Linked DNA regions of Homo sapiens: regions 1, 3 and 4 are each linked to region 2. Evidence: promoter capture Hi-C in human tissues and cell types (Jung and others, 2019). All regions are on one chromosome and are shown on one strand. The core of a region is centred on a gene start or on the middle of the fragment in contact, and the rest is flanking DNA. Distances in the headings are between cores, read along the strand shown. Region 1 overlaps SBF2 (SET binding factor 2). Region 2 holds the start of SBF2 (SET binding factor 2). Region 3 overlaps SBF2 (SET binding factor 2). Region 4 overlaps SBF2 (SET binding factor 2).

The links. Contacts are between HindIII fragments. The study calls those that stand out against the background at their distance.
Region 1: a fragment that was not itself captured here is called in contact with the fragment with the promoter of SBF2 in region 2 in 1 of the 25 tissues and cell types used here (H1 embryonic stem cells).
Region 3: a contact is called between a fragment that was not itself captured here and the fragment with the promoter of SBF2 in region 2, in 1 of the 25 tissues and cell types used here (small bowel).
Region 4: a contact is called between a fragment that was not itself captured here and the fragment with the promoter of SBF2 in region 2, in 1 of the 25 tissues and cell types used here (mesendoderm cells).

Annotation. Positions count from the first base shown.
Region 1 is chr11:10,097,227-10,101,911 of GRCh38, forward strand. The region is part of intron 2 of SBF2 (SET binding factor 2); the gene reads right to left. Among named protein-coding and RNA genes, the nearest start is that of SBF2, 190 kb to the right of the region's middle. The HindIII fragment of the contact is 6,094 bases long and covers 1-4,685 here.
Region 2 is chr11:10,290,478-10,295,758 of GRCh38, forward strand. It overlaps SBF2 (SET binding factor 2), which reads right to left and starts at 3,742. Exons shown (of 40, transcript NM_030962.4): 1 at 3,538-3,742. The coding sequence starts at 3,592. RefSeq lists silencers at 3,140-3,279, 3,320-3,399, 3,430-3,709, 3,830-3,879. The HindIII fragment of the contact is 12,564 bases long and covers 1-5,281 here.
Region 3 is chr11:10,049,163-10,054,482 of GRCh38, forward strand. The region is part of intron 2 of SBF2 (SET binding factor 2); the gene reads right to left. Among named protein-coding and RNA genes, the nearest start is that of SBF2, 240 kb to the right of the region's middle. The HindIII fragment of the contact is 3,945 bases long and covers 940-4,884 here.
Region 4 is chr11:10,117,014-10,121,721 of GRCh38, forward strand. All of the region lies in intron 2 of SBF2 (SET binding factor 2), which reads right to left. Among named protein-coding and RNA genes, the nearest start is that of SBF2, 170 kb to the right of the region's middle. The HindIII fragment of the contact is 4,654 bases long and covers 1-4,470 here.

The sequences.
Region 1 (4,685 bases), core at 1,112-3,611, 190 kb before region 2:
AGCACTTGACAACAGAGAACAAGCCATCACCAGACAACAAACTTTCTGCAACCTTTAAGCGTGGATTTCCCGGCCTTGAGAACTGTGAAGAAATAAATATCTATTCTTTATAAATTACTGTCTGTAGTATTTTGTTATAAAAGCACAAACGGGCTGACACATTGACACAATTTGGTTCTAGATTAAACAGGTAAAAACGAGGCAGTGAAACAGTATTACTTTCCAGGCAAGTGCCTGTCTATTCAGGCAGAGACCACGAAACAAAATTAACAAAATTTAAAATATTCCAAAACACATTCTTTAAAAAAAGCTTATTAGAAAGGAAATCCTCAAAAATTTGGCATCAAGATGTAGAAATAGGAAATTTCAGCCATCGTCTTCCTGCAGAAACAATATTGTCAACCACCCACAGATGACAGTAGCTTTGTGGGAGCCCAAAAGTCCAGCAGATATGGCCAACACCCCAGTAGAAAAAAAGCTTAAATAAATAGATGCATTGAAAAGGGTAAGAACAATTTCACTTTAGCTATTTCTTCATCCCTCCCCTAAAGCCGCACAGCCCAGTGCCAAGAGAGATCCAATCAGCCTTGGATCTGTCTCACAAAGGAAAGTAAAAGCATAGTGAGTTCCTGTCTTCTACAGCTCTGAGAGTCACTGCCTAAGAGGCCTACTTCTTTCTCACCCCACCGACAACACACAGAAGACTCGGAGGAGAAGCTAGAAACAGGAGAAAAGGGTGGGGACTCAAAACAACTAGGGCACAGAACGCAACAAAGCACCATGGTTTCTGCTAAATGCCTCCCACACTCCACCAAGAGGTATTCCCAAGAACATCTCACCTATGGTCCCATCTGCCAACTAGGCTATATGTTCCCCTAACATACCATGCACCCCTCTCTCCTGTACATGGCACCCTATATGTGCCCCTGCAGACAATACATACAAGCATCCACAGACTTGGTTTGATTCTGAACATTTCAGGACACTACCGTAGAGAAAATTAAAGGAGGCTCTCAACAATGGACCTACCTTTGCAGGATTGAGAGAAGGAATGTAAACCTAAGATTTCTTCCCTGAAAAAGGGAAGAAGTAGAGTAGTTATATCCACAGAAAAGGTCTGAAGGACCTCCAGAATCCCCACCTCAGCTGACTGGTGAAGTCTTTTCTCCTGAAGCCAGTCACTACAGAGCAAAGAAGATAACATCTTCTTTGAATGTGAAGATGGCAAGGCAAGGCTTCAAGGAAAATTAAAAAAAAAAAAACAAAGAAATATGATACCACCAAAGAAACAAAGTAAATTTCTAGTAACTAACACCAAAGAAATGGAGATCTATGAATTGCCTGACAAAGAACTCATAATAATTGTTTAACAAGCTACAAGAGGTCACAGACAACTCGATGCAACCAGAAAAACAATATATCAACAAAATACAATCAACAAAGACAAAAAATGCACACACACACACACACACACACACACACACACACACACACGAAATTCTGGAGCTGAAGAACACCATAAATGAAATAAAAATGTAACGGCCAACTTCAATATCAGACTTGATAAAGAAAAGAAAGAATCTACAAACTCAAAAACAGGTCATTTGATTTCCAGTCAGAGGAGAAAAAGAAAAAAAAAGAATGAAAAAGAGTGAGGAAAGCCTGCAGGATTTATGAGACAAAATGAACCAAACCAAAATATGCATGATAGAAGTCTCAGAAAAAGAAGACAAAAAGGATTTATGGGACAAAATGAACCAAACCAAAATATGCATGATAGAAGTCCCAGAAAAAGAAGACAAAAAGAAAGAAGCAAAAGGCTTCTTTAGATAAATAATGCCTTAAAACTATCCAAATCTTGAGAGAGATATGGACTTCCATGTTCATGAAGCTCAAAAAATCAAGACCAATCCAAAGAAAATTACACTAAGACATGTGCTAATCAAATTACCAGAAGTTAAAGACAAAGTAAGACTTTGAAAGGAGCATTAGAAAACTGACTCATCAGAGACAAAGAAACACCAATTAGCCTATCCACAAGCTTCTCCCTAAAAATGTTACGGACCAGAAGAAAGGGATAATATATTCAAAGGGCTGAAAAAAACCATGTGAACCAAGAATACTATAACTAGCAAAAATGTTTTTCAGAAATGAAAGAGAGATTAAAAACTTTCCCAAACAAAAGCTAAGGGAGTTCAAAAACAGTAAACCTGCCTTACAAGAAATGCTAAAGGGGGTTCTTTAACCTGAAACAAAACTATTCTAATTAATAACCTGAAAACATGAAGGTATAAAACTAACTGGTAAAGGTAAGTAGATAGTCAGTGTCAGAATATTACACTATAACGATGATACACAAATCATTTTTAACTCTGGTACAAAGGCTTAAAGACAACTATTAAAGTGACTATAGCCATAATAATTTGTTAAGTATATTAAGATAAAAAGTTGTACATTGTGACATCGATAACAAACTGTTGGGGTGGGGGGAATAAAAGTGCAGAGTTTTTGTATGTGAGGGAATTTAAGATGTTATCAGTTTAAAAAAGACTGTTAAAACTATAAAATGTTTGATATGTCTTATGAAAACCAAACACACACACACACCTCTAATAGAAACAAAGAGAAACAACAAATAGAAAGAAATCAAAGTATGCCACTATAAAAAAATAAAGTTACAATGAAAAACACAAAAGAGGAAGAAAGAATCAAAGGACCTACAAAGCAGCAGGAAAAAAATTTTAAAAAATGGCAATACTAAGTTCTTATCTATCAATAATTACTTTAAATTGCAAATGAAACTAAGTTCTTCAATAAAAAGACAAAGTGGGTGAATCAATAATAAAACAAGACCCAACTATATGCTGCCAACAAAAGACTCATTTTAACTTTATAAACACACATAGGCTAAAAGGGGATGGAAAAAGGCATTTTGTAAAAATGGAAACCAAGGAGACAGATTTGAGTAATTATAAAACTCCAATCTCCTGCAAAACTGGCTCTGTGTTAATTACTCTTTCTCTACTGGAATTCACCCATCTTGATAAATTGGCTCTGCCTAGGCAGCGGGCAGGGTGAACCTGTTGGGCAGTTACAAATTTGGAGGCTCGTCTGGGATTGCCCTTGTGGCTGCCTGCCTGTGGTTCAGTAGCCCCCTCTCTGGTGATGGATCCAAAGGCCAGCCCAAGCGGCCACAGTTGTCTTGGACTGGGGGCTGATTCTGGCAATCTCTCTACTGGCAGGGTGCTGCCAATCCAATGTGCATGAATTTAACTGCAATAGAGAAACAGTCCTGGGGAGACGTCCCATAACTGTAGCCCTACCACAGGGTGTCTGTCTGTAGCTCCATGGCAGGGTATATGTCTGTAGCCTGGTCATGGAGTGCTTATAGCTGTAGCCCCACTATGAGGTATCTGGTTTGGTGAGTATCCTAGGTACTGCCCACACCTCCTTCCTTCTCCTGATCAGTTTGGATCCTTCAGGGGTGTTGGTTTTTCTGTAGCCCCATGGTGGAGTATCCGTCTGTAGCCCCACTGCATGGTGTCTGTCTTGGTTTGGCTCCATCAGGGGTCTTGGTTTTCCTGTAGCCTTGTGTGGAGGTGTCTGTAGCTCCACTGCAGGGTGTCTGTCTTGGTTCAGCCCCTTTGGGGGTCTCAGTTGGCTCTCCCTAATTAGTAGGAGGAGTCTTGGTTCAGCAGACATCTAAATCAGGAAGATTTCAGGGAGATTTCTCAGACGGAAAATAGAATAGTTTAGAAAGGATACTCTCGGAGTTCTTGGTTAGGGATCTGGATTTGGAAGGCCTTCTGCCTATCGTGTCTTTGTGTGTGTGTTTGTTTATGTGAAGGGAATCTCTGGAGGAATTGCTGGCACAAGTTCAGCAGGCCTAACTCAGAGAACCCTCCTTATTTGTCTGGTCACATTCGGTGAGCCCTGAAGGAAGCTCAACAGGCCTGACTCGGGGAGACTATCCACTCTTCGTCTTACCCAGCAACTACCCAATGAATTACCATTCGGAGGTCATCCCTCCCCGCCTGGAGTGAATCAAAGGCAACAGGGACCAACAGGAGAAAGCTGAGCCTTGCCAGTTTAATACTGGGTGCTGAATGAGTTGACTAGTGTCTGTTTTGTTATATGTATTTTGCTTTGGCTGGGATGGAAAATGTTAACTCAGTTCCCCACACAGTCTGTTGGGCAGCATCTTGCAAAATTGAGAATCTTTTGCCAATAGTTCCATAAAACAGAAAAGGGTGATTTCCTTTTGTAAAGTGGCTTGACCCCCACAGCTATGCCACAGTAAGCAGGGTCATCAAAAACCGCTCCATTTTTCTGGAAGCTGCAGTGAAATGGAACCCGGAAACCTGGTATGCCGGCAAAAAGGGTAAGAAATTCTTACCAGTCAAAAGTTTCTGGTGTGTCTCTCTCTCTCGCTCTGTGTGTGTGTGTGTGTGTGTGTGTGTGTGTGTACATGGTAAATGTCAATATTTATCTCCTCTGCAAGGGTTTAATTAATAGAAAAAAAGGATTTGTGAGACTAGTCTTAGGCTGCAGCAAATCTGGTGCGCTTTGTGCTAAGAATGTCTTTCAGTGTCGTTCTGTAATGGAGAGAGAGGTATCACAGGATAGAACATGGGTTTAGGACCCCTATAAGCCTACCTTTCAAGCCAGCCTGGCAGGCTGGTCAG
Region 2 (5,281 bases), core at 2,492-4,991:
GCTGGGGAGGGTGTCCCTGTATGGAAGCATGCTGGTATGGACTCTTAGATCCAGACTGGGGTAGGGGGATGGAGGAGATGGAATGAAGAATCCAAGTCCCAGCAGGGAGAGGAGTAGATGGTAGTGAAGATGGGAGACTGAACAATAAGTAAATACATTCAGGATAACAGAAGCCAGATTTCTCACTGTCAGAGAAGAACGTTACAATATGAAAAAGGAGAACACTAGAATAGATCCTGGACTATTTGACTGAAATTGGAGGTATCAGTATGAATTCATAGTTTTCAATATACAGAGATAATAAATAAATATAGATATAAATGCATATGTATGTTTATGCATACATACCTATACTTACCAGCCCTGACCATTAACAGGACCTGGAAGGAGTAACAGCCCAACAGCAATAAACACACTAGCCTTGAGATCTTAGCTTCTAAATGTCATTCTCCACTAAAAGGAACCAGGGATCCCTAAATGGCTGATTACAGAACCAAGGCATGGAAAGTACAAGATGAGCCAGGAACAGGTTCTTGTGCCAAAAAGTACAAAGTTGTTCTCAAAGAGTGATGGGGATGTACCATAAGAACACAGAAGCCAGCTTGTACAACTCTCATTGGCCATATAAAGAACAATTTGAACATCAAAATAAATAATGCTATAGTCTGAATGTGTATGTCCCCTCCCAAAATTCGTATGTTAAAATCCTAACACCCAAAGTGATGGTATTATGAGGTGAGGCCTTTAGGAAGTGATCAGGTCATGGTGGTGGAGTCCTTGTGAATGGGATTAGTTCCCTTTTTAAAGAGACCCCAGAGAGCTCATTTGACCCTTAAGCCATATGAGGTTAAAGTGAGAACATGGCTATGAGGAAGCATGTCCTCACCAGACACTGAATCTGTCAGAGTCTTCATCTTGGATTTCTCTGCCTCCAGACTGTGAAAAATAAATTTCTATTGTTTATAAGCCACCCAGTTTGAGGTATTTTTGTTATAACAGCCCGAATGGACTAAGGCAAATAGTAACAGAATATAATCCGCGAGCTCCCCTTTCTGGTCTCACTTCGGCTGGATGTGCTTAGACTCTCCTATTTCCCACTCAAGCCAGTGCTTCGGGCAGGTGGGCTAGTGACTTTTTCCGAATAGACTAAGGCAAATAGTAACAGAATATAATCCACTAAACACACACACACACACACACACACACACACACACACACACAGACTCCATGTAGATGTCAATAAATGATTAAGAGTTTAGTGAGGAACAAGATATTTACATAGTTTCAAAGTACATGGCAAAAACAATTAAGTATTAACTTTACAGTGGAGAAGCCTCGCAGATATTACTTATATCAAGTAATCAAAGTAAAAATAACCAACAATGAAACAAAGTGAAATTGTGCACCACCTGACAGGATGCAGTGAGCATCACTTCTGTGATATCCTTCCCACGTGCATATTCGTATGTATCTAATCATGAAGGAACAGACAATCCCAAATTGAGGGGGCAGCCTACAAAGTGACTGACCTGTAATTGTTAAATATGTTAAGGTCATGAAAGTCAGGAGAAGATAAAGGAAATGTTCCAGATTGAGGGAGACAAAAGAGACATAACATGAATGCAACACATATTGCTAAACTGGATCCTTTTGCCAGTAAAGAGATTACTAGCACAATCAACAAAACTTGAACCAGTCTGAGAACTAGATGGAGTACTGTATCACTATCCATTTCCTGTTTTGGTTATTACACTGTGATCATGTAGGAGAACATTCTTGTTTGCAGAAAATGCACATTAAAGTATTCTGGGATGACAGGGCATCAGGTCAACAGCTTCCTCTCAAATTGTTGGGGGGCGGGTAGAATTTTTTGTACCATTCTTGCAACTTTTTTGCAAGTCTGTTATTGTTTCAACATTGTTGGCCGGGCGTGGTGGCTCAAGCCTGTAATCCCAGCACTTTGGGAGGCCGAGGCCGGTGGATCACGAGATCAGGAGTTCAAGACCAGCCTGGCCAGGATGGTGAAATCCCGTCTCTACTACAAATACAAAAATTAGCGGGCGTGTTGGCGGGCGCCTGTAAATCCCAGCTACTCCGGAGGCTGAGGCAGAGAATTGCTTCAACCCGGGAGACAGAGGTTGCAGTGAGCCAAGATCGCACCACTGCACTCCAGCGTGGGCAACAGAGCAAAACTCCGTCTCAAAAAAAAAAAAAAAAAAAATTGTTTAAAAGTGGGGAGGGGGGGAGGCGGAACAATGTCACTAAAAACTAAAGGTTAAAAAACTGATTTCCCACACTTAATCTTGATAGAAAAGAAACATCAGACTATGCCAAATTACTAGGAAATAAAATTTTGGATCCAGAAGTTTAAACATTTAAACTTTCTCTTTAACAATTGACCTCAATCAGGTCATGACTGGTGAAAGAGAAAAGAACATGAAAGGTTCCCACTAAAGGAGAGGAAGTTCTTAGGAGAGGAATAATGAAAGAGAGAGTGGACCAAGAGTGGGTAGAACAATGGTATTCTGAGCTACCAATGGCTGTAACCATCAGGAAAACACAATCTCAGCATCTCTGAAAAATGAAGGGGCTGTAGAGCTGATATCTCAAATTCCTTGCAAATGTGGGACTAGAATTGCCCTAAAATAGAAGTGGTTTCCCAGCTCAATTTGTTATTACATTATGCTTAGCTACATAGTAATACAAGAGAATACAAATACAGAAATAAACGTGCATGAACCCTGAATTCTCTTAAGTTGTGGAAGTCCGTCAATTAAAGTGTAAAATACAATGCATTTGCCCAATTGTTCCTTACGACGAAAATTCTGTGACAAATAAAAAGAACAATGAAAACACATTAAAGTGAAACAAGATCACCTTCAGCGGTCAGCTGGCTGTCCTTAGTTAAAAGACAAGTCATGTCACTGTGAAGTGACCGTCACATTTGTCCTGAAAGAATAGGGAGCATTTCCTAGAAAGGGGTAAAAGTGCAAAGAATCCTGTCCCCTTCCCTGGTACCACGCGTTCCTTGGGGAGGTCACTAGGCCCCCAACAGCACAGGGGTGAGTTAGCACTGGACTCTCAGCACTTCCTTTCGGAGAGGACAACCCCCTGCGTCACTGGTTACTCACTCAGGATGCAGGGCAGAAGTTTATCCCCGAGGAACTTAGCACAGTTGGCTCCCGCCCTCCCAGCCTTGCGGTCCTGGGCCCAATCTCAGGGCTCTCTCTGCCCCGGGTACCCTGCAGCCTCCAGCGGGAGGGTCGCGAGACCCCAACTCGCCTCCGGCCCGCCCAGCGGGTGCGCCCAGGGGCTGGGCAGACGCGGCGTCTTCCCTCCCCCTACCGTCGTGCCGGCCCCCCCACGCCCACCGCCAGGCTCAGCCCAGCCGAGAAGGCCGGACGCCGACCGCCCGCTCCTCCGAGACTCGGCCTGGCCCTCCCCGACGCCCGTCCCCGACGCCCGGCCCCGCGGAGCCCACTGGACAGCGGCCGGGGGGCGGGGAGGCCCGGGGGCGGTGCCGCCCCACACCCTTACCTGGCTTCTCGTGGTCATAGCCTACCACGATGAAGTAGTCAGCCAGCCGGGCCATGGCCGCCGCCGCCGCGCTCGGGAAGCGGGTCCCCGTCGCCGCCCTCGCCGCCGCCGCCCACCCGGCCCGGGAGGGCTCAGCATTTTCCCTGCAGCGGCAGTAGCGGCAGCGGCAGCGCTTCAGCCATGTTTGACAACCGAGGCGCGCTCTGCGCTTGCGCGGCGCCTAGTGCCCGCTCCTCCCCCGCCCCCACCCGCGCTGGCTCGGCTGCCCCAAGCCCGGGCGGCGAGCCCACCTCCACCCTCCGCGGGCCTCGCGGACTGCTGCGCTGGGGGAGTGGGCGGTCGGGCGTGTTCCCGCCACGCGCCGCCACCGCGGCCCCTGGAGGTGGTTCACTTTGAGGCCTGGATGCTGCTTCACGGCCCCCTCTGCCTCCCTATTTTTCCTAAAGCAGGGGGTCCTTCCTTCCGCCTTCTCTATTCTGTTTGGATTTGGAAGAAGGGATGTGGAGAGTTGAGGGGTCACTTGGAAAGCTGGCTGCTTCCTCTGCTCCCCACCACCACCAAAGATGAAATTCTCCCGCCCTCGGTTGGAAGCAAGGAATTTGCATCGACAGGGCTTTTGCTGCACGTTTCCTGTTTATGTTGTGTAGATGGGAATTTTAGAAACATGCCACCGAGCAGACGGGGGAGGGAGAGGCTTTTACGCAATCCTCCAAGGAGCCTCGGGTTTCAATGCCGGGTGGGCCGGGGGCGGTCGGCCTGGGCTTCCCCCGGAGCGCCCGGGAGAGCCAGATTCCACCGAGGAACGCGGCATCCCCGGGATCCTCCCGAACTGGGCTGGCCTCTCCCTGGGGAGCCCCGCACGCCTCGGCTTGCTTCCCTCGCAGCGGTCCCAGGGCTCTCGCAGCCCGAGCAGGTGGACTTCCAACTTCCCTGCTCAAACATGCACAAAAATGAATAGATGGTCCCGTCCTTCCGTCTCGGGATTATCAAAGTCGCTTGCTTTTTTGTTGAACCTCCTATTGACCATTTCGAATTTGGCTGGTGTGACATTCAGGTGAACTCACTTTGTCATTTGTTAATATCTCACGAAGTTTTAGTAGAATTTGTACAAGTGGTAGACCAAAGTTTTGGAAATCTCCGTGGTTTAGAAGTTGTCTTTGTGGTTGCTTATCACTGCTCACTATTAATTGAGGGTTTGATCCTTCATATTTACACATAAGACAAGGCCTCTTAGCAAAGCGTCTAGTATATAGTAGGTGCCTACAAAATATTTTAAATGAGTAAATGTGCGATTTTCCCCAACGACCAGCAGGAAGCCGCAATGGCTCCAACTCTGAACTGAGAGAGTTGACATCTCAGCTCCTGAAGATTTACTCTGCTGTAATTTACTATTTCCCCTTTCTCTGCCACACTTGTTTCATCTACAAATTGGGAGGGTTGGGCTGCACTAGAACTGAAACTGAAGGAATACTTTAACTCCAGGACCTCTATGTCAGTTGCTAATGGTAAAACTGAATCAGCTGAATTTGCAAACGTGGAGGGAAGATAGTTTGATCCTGAAAATAATTAAACCAAAAAAAAAAAAACCTCAGTCATACCCCGTGCAGCAATCCTCTCTGTAACTTCCCTGAGAGCTCATCATCCAACTTGATCACTTTCAGTAAAAAGTAATCTTACTTCCTTGGGAGGCAGCGCATTCCACTGTTTAACAGCCCTATTGTTAGAAAGTTCTTCCTTATTATTT
Region 3 (5,320 bases), core at 1,662-4,161, 240 kb before region 2:
AAGACATTTACAAAAATGTAACACAGTATCACTCTTTTCTGTATTTTTTTGTTTTGGAAAAGATGGTTATTTTTCATAAAAACATGGTATTTTTGTTAACATGGAATGGGATTTTGTTATTTAAAAGTGGGTAAATTTAAAAAAAAATTTTATTTTAGTTGTGGCTGGGTGCGATGGCTCACGCCTGTAACCCCAGCACTTTGGGAGGCTGAAGTGAGTGGATCACTTGAGGTCAGAAGTTTGAGACCAGCCTGGCCAACATGGTGAAACCCCACTTCTACTGAAAATATAAAAATTAGCTGGGTGTGGTGGCACATATCTGCAATGTCAGCTACTTGGGAGGCTGAGACAGAAGAATCGCTTGAACCTGGGAGGCGGATGTTGCAGTGAGCAAAGATCGCGCTATTGCACTCCAGCCTGGGCAACAAGAGAGAGACTCCATCTTAAAAAAAAAAATTAGTTGTAATTTCTAATATATAAATGAATTGATAAAACCACATAAAACTCTTTTAGAATTCTCAATAATTTGTGACAGTATAAAGGGTACTGAGACTAAAAGTATGGGAACTGCTATTTTAATGAGAATGGGTGTTAACATGTAACTATCCTTGGCTTAAACTACTTGGGTAGCAGAACGGTATAATCCTTGGTAGAACTGGAAAGTTTTATCAGGCTACAATAAAAGCCAAAAATATCTTTCAAAATCCTTTTACTTTCTCTCAACAAACTTCTTTCGTGAATAAGGTACATCATTTTCTAAAATGAGCCTCAGAATCAGGAAGGAAGTATGTGAGCTTAGGTTATAACATAATGTAACGATACAGCCTGCATCATCAGTTCTACCACCACCACAAACTGCCCCTCTGATAAAAAGTGAATCAGTTCTGTGAATTAACAGCAAATAATCCCATTCTCATAGAAGTCTGTCATTCATATCATTAGCTAATCACTAGGCTTGGTAAATGGTACTAAAAAACATACACTAGAGAATGATGACTGCATATTTTCACATCTTTAAAGAAACTACAGGTTTTCAATAAGGACAAACAAAATCCCTTCATTTTAGTTCTAATTCTACCAAATATATTTGACTTCTCAAATTGAAGTTACCTAACAGAAATAACAATGCAACTTTTTATAACCATATACATATAGGCATATAAGTCCCCTCTTATCCATGGAGGATATGTTCAAGATCCCACAGTGGTTACCTAAAACTGTGGATAATACCGAACCCTGTATGTACTATGTATGTATGTATATGGAACCCTATATGTACTATGTTTTTTCCTATACATACATAACAATGATGTTTAGTTTATAAGTTATACATAGTAAGAGATGAACAATAACTAATAATAAAATATAACAATTATGATATTAGACTATAATAAAAGTTATATGAATGGGGTCTCTCTCAAAATGTATTATTGTATTATACTTGCCCTTCTTATGATAATGTGAGATGATTTAATGCCTCTGTGATGAGATGAAAGGTGAATGACATAAACATTGTGACATAGCTATAGGCTACTATTGACCTTCTGATGGTAAATCAGATAAGATGGCTACTAAGTGACTAATGGGTGCATAGTGTATACAGTGTGGATAAGCTGGACAAAGGGATGATGCATATCCCAGGTGGGATGGTGTGAGATTTCATCATACTACTCAGATGGTGCATAATTTAAAACCAATGAATTGTTTCTGGAATTTTCCATTTAATATTTTTGGACCTCAGTTGACCATGGGTAAATAAAACCACAGAAAGCAAAACCATGGGTAAGGGGGAAACTACAGCAGATCTATTAAATGAGCAGTCAGATATTTTGCTGCCTGAAACTAGAAAAAATAACTATTAATGTGCCCATTTTTCTCAAATGCTTTGCACATATAGACAATATAAGAGAAATATACCAGAATAACAAAAATGTCCATAGCACTGTGATTAAATTGAATGATCTCTTGAAGGTGAAATATTATAGGTTTCAATATTTCCCAAGACCTTCATCTGCATCCATAAATGTTTAGCTATTGAGCCATGTTTTAATGTATAACATTTAAATTAAATGTGTCTCTTTTTAAAAAGCCTGTAAGAAAATTCCTTCTCCTAATAGAAAATAATAAACATATAACATCGAGAAAAAGAATGTGAGAGTTTAGATAGTAAGACCACCTTAGTTACTTAAATAGCCTCATAAATATGTTAGTTTACACTATAAGAATAATTCTGTGATTAAAAAAGTATTACCCTTAAAACTTTTGGGAAATTCCAAGGATCAATTTTCAAATCCAATAGACTTCTTCAAAACTCAGCTTAATGTGACCACAGCTCAAATAGTATAGTAATTAATGGTTGGCCTGGTCAGATTTTTTTTACTAAATTTTTCACAAAGAGGTTGTTAAGATAGTTAACTAGACACTGGTTACGTATGAGATCCTCTATTTCACACGTAAATGACATTAAATATATTGTGCATTTAAAAATACCATTAGAATCATAGTTTATAGGAAATTTTGAATTCTATATTCTCAAATAAAATACAGTAACATAGACATAGTCTATGTTACACAGTTTACAAAAATTCTTTCTCAAAGGATGAAAAGAAATGACCCTAACCTGCAGTTAAATGAGTCTTTTTCAAATTCACTGTATCATAAGATTAAGCAATAATAGATTTGGGAGTATCAGAATACAAACTCACAATTTAATGAGAAGTACTCCTCATAGAATTTGGATTTCAAATATAACAATGCTAGCTGGTTTAGTCTTTTCCATTCTTAACTAAAAATGTGTTAGAGAAATAAACAATGAGGATGTGGACATTACAATTCTTGAACCTGGGTTTAAGTCACACTTCTGACAGGAATGTGAGGAAAATGTTTAGACAGCTGGAGAGTAGTCACTAAAAGATAGTAAGCAGGATGATAAGCATTATACAAACAGGATAAAAATCAGGATTTTTCTCTCCCCAGTGTCTTTATAGGCAAACAGGAAAAAAAAAAAGCTATCACAGGTGCAAAACCCAAAATGTTTAGAATCGACTGTCATAACAGACTGACCTAACACTGTGCCCTCCTTTTTTCAAGTCACTGAGAAAACACATATATTTGTAATGGCAAAACATACCACATAATCTCACAATACCGTTTTGATACCTGCATGAGTGTATGAGCAACGACTTGTTTTTGACAACTCCCTTCTACCTTGACTTCACCATTTCACACATACCATGCCCATAAAAATGTTAACAACGTATCTGGGAACAGGCAATGTGGGAATCCTTTTCAGGATGTTCTTCTGTCTTTGTTTATCTCTAGTTTTCTTTAAGAACTTAGTATAACCTATAAGCAAATTATACTTCAAGTTTGCAAGGCTGGAATTGTTAGACATTGCTAAACTCTATATGTTAATGCATTACAAACACCCGCTTTGTTTACTTGCTTGTTTGTTTAATTGCCCAAATGTATGAAGTAGATAACTTGCAAATAGGCCATCCATCTGCAAATAAAAGGTACGTGCTAATATAATAATCTCTCAGGTTTGTAAGATATTTTATATATAACCATATCTCACAAGACTCATTCTACAAACAATGAAACCAAGACTGTTAGACATTAAGGTCATAAAGAGTTTGTGGCACTGGCAGGACTAGAATCCAAGTCTCTGCATTTCTATAAACCGTGTTCTTTCACTTCTAAATTACCTTCATAAATCACCTTATGCATATTGTTTTATGCTAATATAAATACATGGCAGAAAAACTTAAGAAATAAAATGAAAGTGAAATAAATTTTGTAACATGTAACATTTCCTAGCAACCATTTATCTCTGAAGGTATGCATGTATGTATGTATGTGTGTGTGTGTATTTATCCAAAGGAGGGCATATTGTATATATAGTTATGAATCCTGTTTTTCTCCCCTTCCTATAACATGTATTTTCCCATGTATTTATATATTTTTAACATAATTATTTTTAATAACTGAATATTATACCATCATGTAGATATAGATAAAATATCATAACCAATTCCCTATTGTTGGTTAAGATGTTTATAATTTTTTATAATTAATGCTGAAATAAGCATAGTACTATATAAATATTTCCAGATATGTCTTTTTATTTTCTCAGGGAAATAGAACTGGTTTTCTAGAGCATGCACAAGTTGAGCACAAAAATGTTTAATTATCCTTGAATTCCTTTTTAAAGGTTAAGCAACCCCAAAATTGTTTTGTTTTTCCTGATACATTTCTAAAGAGGACAGAAAAGAAGTGATAACAAAGAACTGTTATTATAAACTATATTCTGACCAAAGAAGAACTGATTTGTGAATAAAGTAACAGAAGCTTTAGGAGACTGAAGTCTGTGCCAAGCCAGGCCAGGGCAGTGTCAGATGTGTGCTCTGAACATTATATAGATATTCTTCAAAAGTTTGAAAAAAGACCCAGCCTGGTGGCTCATGCCTGTAATCCCAGCAATTTGGGAGGCTGAGGCCAGAGGACCACTTGAGCCTAGGCATAAGAGGCTGCAATGAGCTGAGATCGCACCACCACACTTCAGCCTTGGTGAAGAGTGAGACCTTGTCTCGGAAAAAAAAAAAAAAATTAACCAAGAGTAGTGGCATGCACCTGTAGTACCAACTACTCAGAAGGCTGGGGTAGGAGGATTGCTTGAGCCTGGGAGGTTGAGGGTGCAGAGAGCTGTGATCATGACACTGCACTTGAGCCTGGGTGACAGAGTGAGATTCTGTTCTTCCACCAAAAAAAAAAAAAGTTCAGAGAAAATATAGTGGGCAGAAGACTTTGGAAGAGAAGTCAATTTAAGAGTTTGTGACATCTCAAACATTTTGTTTTTACAGAATAATGCATGTCACATATAGGCCCAATTTTAATAAGCAGCTTTTGATAAAGTATATACTTAAAAGGGACTATCCAAAATTATTTGCTTAAAATGGAAACTTAACTGAAATGGGTCACCTATATTGCTTTTGGTAAAAATTTACATCCAGATATTTTATTACTACTATACAACATTTGCATTGTCCTCACCACAATAAAACTTTCATTACGTGTAAGATAATATGATTGTCTGCCTAGAGAATACATACAAACTGACTAAACACTGTTTCAACTAGTAAGAGTTTACTTAGGTAGGCAGATATACAAACATACACAAATCAAAAGTTTTCTTTGACATCAGCAATAAGCAATTAGAAAAAAGATCCTATTTGTAATCTTAATATGTTCTCAAAGACAAAGGATAAGCTAACCTAACTTCTAAGTTTTGAATATTTTGGTATATCAGTCTCATGAACAG
Region 4 (4,708 bases), core at 894-3,393, 180 kb before region 2:
AGAAAACTAAATCTCAGAGTAATTAAGTGAAGTGCCCAGATCAAAGAGATAAATATTTCAAGCTAGTCAAAAAACCAGGTTAGTGATCTTTTACTTTCATAGTACTGATACATGAAGTAAGGAGCAAAACAAAAGATATGTATCAGGCCGGGCGTGGTGGCTCACGCCTGTAATCCCAGCACTTCAGGAGGCTGAGGCAGGTGAATCACTTGAGGTTAGGAGTTCGAGACCAGCCTGGCCAACATGGAGAAACCCCGTGTCTACTAAAAATACAAAAATTAGCCAGGTGTGGTAGTGCACACCTGCAATCCCAGCTACTCGGGAGGCTGAGGCAGGAGAACTGCTTGAACCCAGGAGGTGGGGGTTGCAGTGAGTCAAGATGGCACCATTGCACTCCAGCCTGGGCGACAGAGTGAGAATCCAACTCAAAAAAAAAAAAAAAAAAAAAGATATGTATCAAATCCTGTGTCCTATTTTGCTTTTCAGCTAGCTTAATATAAAAATTAAAATCACAAATGGGACCCATTACACATTTCTGTTTATTGCATGTTGATCCACTGACATTCCTCTTTCCTGATCAGACTGAAAGTTTATGAACTTTCAAGTGTAAGTTCACATAAATACAAATTAGGTGTGATTATTGGGAGCAGGGGAGATGGGGAGGATTAATTATGGATTTGCTTAGAGACACAAAGATATATTTGAACTTGGGAAAGCAGCCTTAAGAGTCTCTCTTGGGTGCTATTTCCATGTTGTTGGGTTTTTTTTTTTTCTGGTTATACTTATGCAATATGACTCCATTTGGGATTTCAAGTAAAGCTGGAATGCTGTATTCTCTAAGGAATTAATACTGTTCAGTTTTTTTGTTAAAACAAAGAATGTGATACTTTTGGTCAAAAGTTCTTTCTCTGGAATTCATGATAAATGAAAAGAATCTTGGCAGTTTCTATGTCATTCTGCATCTCACAAGCAACGTGCAATTCTTCATGTCACTACAACTTGGTTATTCACTGAAACAACTGATCTTATTACAAAACAAGTTAAAGAAACAAACAAAGCCTCCTTCAGTTCCTGCCTTGATTCATTATTAGAATTCACCTTTCCTTTCACCTCACCCACAATCCCAGATATTTGAAGGCCAAATGTTGTTCTCTCTGAAAGACAGGACATTAGACAATTTAAACATCAGCAAATTGAGTTCAGCTATCCTTAGTCACTGACTGATGACTCTATTCCTATTTGTACATTTTTAAAGTAATACTTATGTCCTTCCTGGAAGTTCTTTTTGCATTCCAGATTACGACAGGGACTAAAGTACAACAAAGAAAAAACGCAAAAAGTCAAGTGTCAGGCAGAATAAGATCCATAAGCATACATATATGTAAGTCTGGGTCAAATTCACCAGGGTATTAATCTTTATTTTAAAATTACAAGTAATATTTATCAAATTTTGCCCAAAGTAATTTAATTCTGGCTTAGTATCAAATTTTAAAATATGGTCAGAGGTATACATTTCAAACATATGTAAGCAGAAAATATTTACAAAGAATTTAAATTCTATAATAAATAATATTTGGTTGTACCATATATCCTCTTTCTAATGTCATGTGATAATCAGATGTAAAAATTGCTACCATCCATTTTCCATCTCCAATTTTAGAAGATGTAATGTACCTGTTCCCCCCAAAATCAGAGATGACATAATTGAATGAGTTAAAATTTCTAAAATTTCCCTAGAGGAATTTCAAAGAAAATAAGCAATTTAGTAAGAACATTAGAAAATCTCAAACATTTTTAAATGGTATACACCCTCTATCTCTAAATTACCTAAGGTTCATTTAGCAAATAACTATTGTCTTTATTCTGCTGATCACCTGAAGTACTGGAAGAAAAAAAAAAAACAAAACTAAACAAACAAACAAACAAAAAAAAAACACTCAGCATCTTCCTCTGTTAAAGTCACATCTGCAGGAAAAAGGCTACTAAAAAAAGAACAATCTGCTGTTCCAAGTTCATATCCTGCCAGTAGATATTTTGCAATTCTCAGGGTAGAACAATGTTTGAAAAAAACAGTTTTATAGGATCAAATATTTAAGGTGGAAATTCCATACTCAGAATATTTAAATGGTAGTTACATTACTAATTAATATATTTTACTAAGTCTGCCACTTTGTCCAAGTCTCCAGTTTGTACCATGTTTTCTAAAACTTTATATGACAAAGCTTGTCTTAGTACTTCCTGTTCCGCTTGTTTTTCCCATGGACTATATTTACCATTTATGATTCTCATGAGTAAATACTAGTATAAAGAATAAAGTAGAGACAATTTTTCTGAAAAAATCCAGAAAAGAATTAAAGAGATATACAGATAAAAACAATAAAGGCATAAGCAACAAACACTATTCCAGTTGAACTGTACTTAATCTCCCAAAGCAAAAGTTTAAGTTAAATAAATGTTCATTTAACTGTTCTTAGGCCACTGCAAGGTCAAAAATAGATTCAAAAGTTCTTAACCAAGTGATATGCTGTTATCTTGTATACACTGGTCAAAGTCATTGATAAGAGAACCTGACATGTCTGTTTTCACATTATTTCTTCATTTATTAAAGTGATTCTCTGTTTTAAACTCTGATGGCTAAATTAATAAATAATTGCTTAGTAAATTGGAGTCCGACAGTATGTGAACCAAAGAATGTTTAATCTCCTGGGATAAAATTATTTATAGGGTCATAAAAAAACCACCTACCTAATATCTTGTGGTTACAATTACTTATGTTTTTATGTTTATTTCAGTGTTTCTCAACTCTGTGCTGTGGAATCAACCTGGGAGGCTTTTTAAATTTTGCAATATCAAGACTCCATCTCAAATTGTATAAATCAGAATATCTTGGCAGTCGGGCCTTAGAATCAATATTTTAAATTTTCTAATTATGGTAAAAACATAAAATTTATCATCTCATCCATTGGTAAATGTATAGTTCAGTAGTGTTAACTATGTGTACACTGTTGTGCAACAGATCTCTAGAACTTTTTCATCCTGCAAAACTGAAACTCTATACCCACTGAACAACTCCCCATTTTCCCTTCCCCTAGCCCCTGGCAATCCCATTCTACTTCCTGATTCTATGAGTTTGACTACTTTAGAGACCTGTTATAAATGAAATTATTAAGTATGTGTCTTCTCATGACTGGCTTGTTTCACACAGCATAATGTTCTCATGGTTTATCCATGTTATAGCATGTAATAGGATTTTCTTCTTTTTTAAGGCTGGATAATATTCTATTGAATGTATATACCACATTTTCTTTATTCTACTGACAGACATCTGGGTTGCTTCTACTTCTTGGCTGCAGTAAATAATGCTGCAATGAATATGGGTGTGCAAATATCTTTGCAATTCTCCTTGAAGTTCTTCTGGAAGTACACCCAAAAGTGGAATTGTTGAATCATTCAGTAAATATAATTTTTTTAATTTTTAGTTTTAATTTTTTAAGGACCCTTCATACTGTTTCCCACAATGGCTGTACCATGTTACATTCCTGCTAATAGGGCAAAAGGGTCTAATTTAATCCACATCCTCAGTAACACTTGTTGTTTTCTGTTTGTTTTTTCTTCTGTTTTTTTTGAGACAGAGTCTCGCTCTGTCACCCAGGCTGGAGTGCAGTGGCGTGATCTCAGCTCACTGCAACCTCCGCCTCCGGGTTCAAGCGATTCTCCTGCTTCAGCCTCCTGAGTAGCTGGGATTACAGGCGTGTGCCACCACGCCCAGCTAATTTTTGTATTTTTAGTAGAGATGGGGTTTCACCATGTTGATTAGGCTGGTCTCGAACTCCTGACCTTGTGATCCACCTGCCTCGGCCTCCCAAAGTGCTGGGAGCTAGCAGGCGTGAGCTACCGTGCCCAGCCATGCCCGGCTAATTTTTTATATTTTTGGTAGAGACGAGGTTCCACCACGTTGGCAAGGCTGGTCTCGAACTCCTGTCCTCAAGTTATCTACCTGCCTCGGCCTCCCAAAGTGCTGGGATTACAGGCTTGAGCCATCACGCCCCGCCTGTTTTTTGTTTGTTTGTTTGTTTAATAGTATCCAACCTAATGGGTGCGGTGTGACATCTCATTGTGGTTTTAATTTGCATTTCTCTAATGATTAGTGATGTTAAGAAACATCCACATAATAACATCCAGTCAGAAATACGGGATCAGCACTCAGAAGATAATGCATAGATAGGTAATGGTTGAAATACAATTAGATGAGAGACAAAACTTTCAAGTAAGACTGGTTTGCTTCTTCCATCTAAGACAGCCTGCTTCTGTCTTTGAAATCTCTCCAATCTCTCCTTTTTCTATATTCTTTCAATCCAATTCTGCTCTTAAGAAAGGATTTAATATGACTTGAGGAACATTTTTTATTTCTCCCAGGGACATTTATGTATGAAGTCTTAACACTGTTAAAGGAAAGATATATCCCCCTCCCACCACCACATGGTAAGGAGGATGGGATAAAGCCTTAAGACTTAGCTACAAGGCAGAGGTATGCAGGGCTAGTATTCTCGAAACCAATTTTACATATGACTAGCAGCTGATCCCCTATTTCACCTAAGACTGACAATTTTTAGAAACAAAAACAACCAACATTGATATAAAAATATGCTTTTGTACAAGCCAAGCATTTACTTGGGAACCTGTAGAATAAATTACAGTTGTCCTCTTT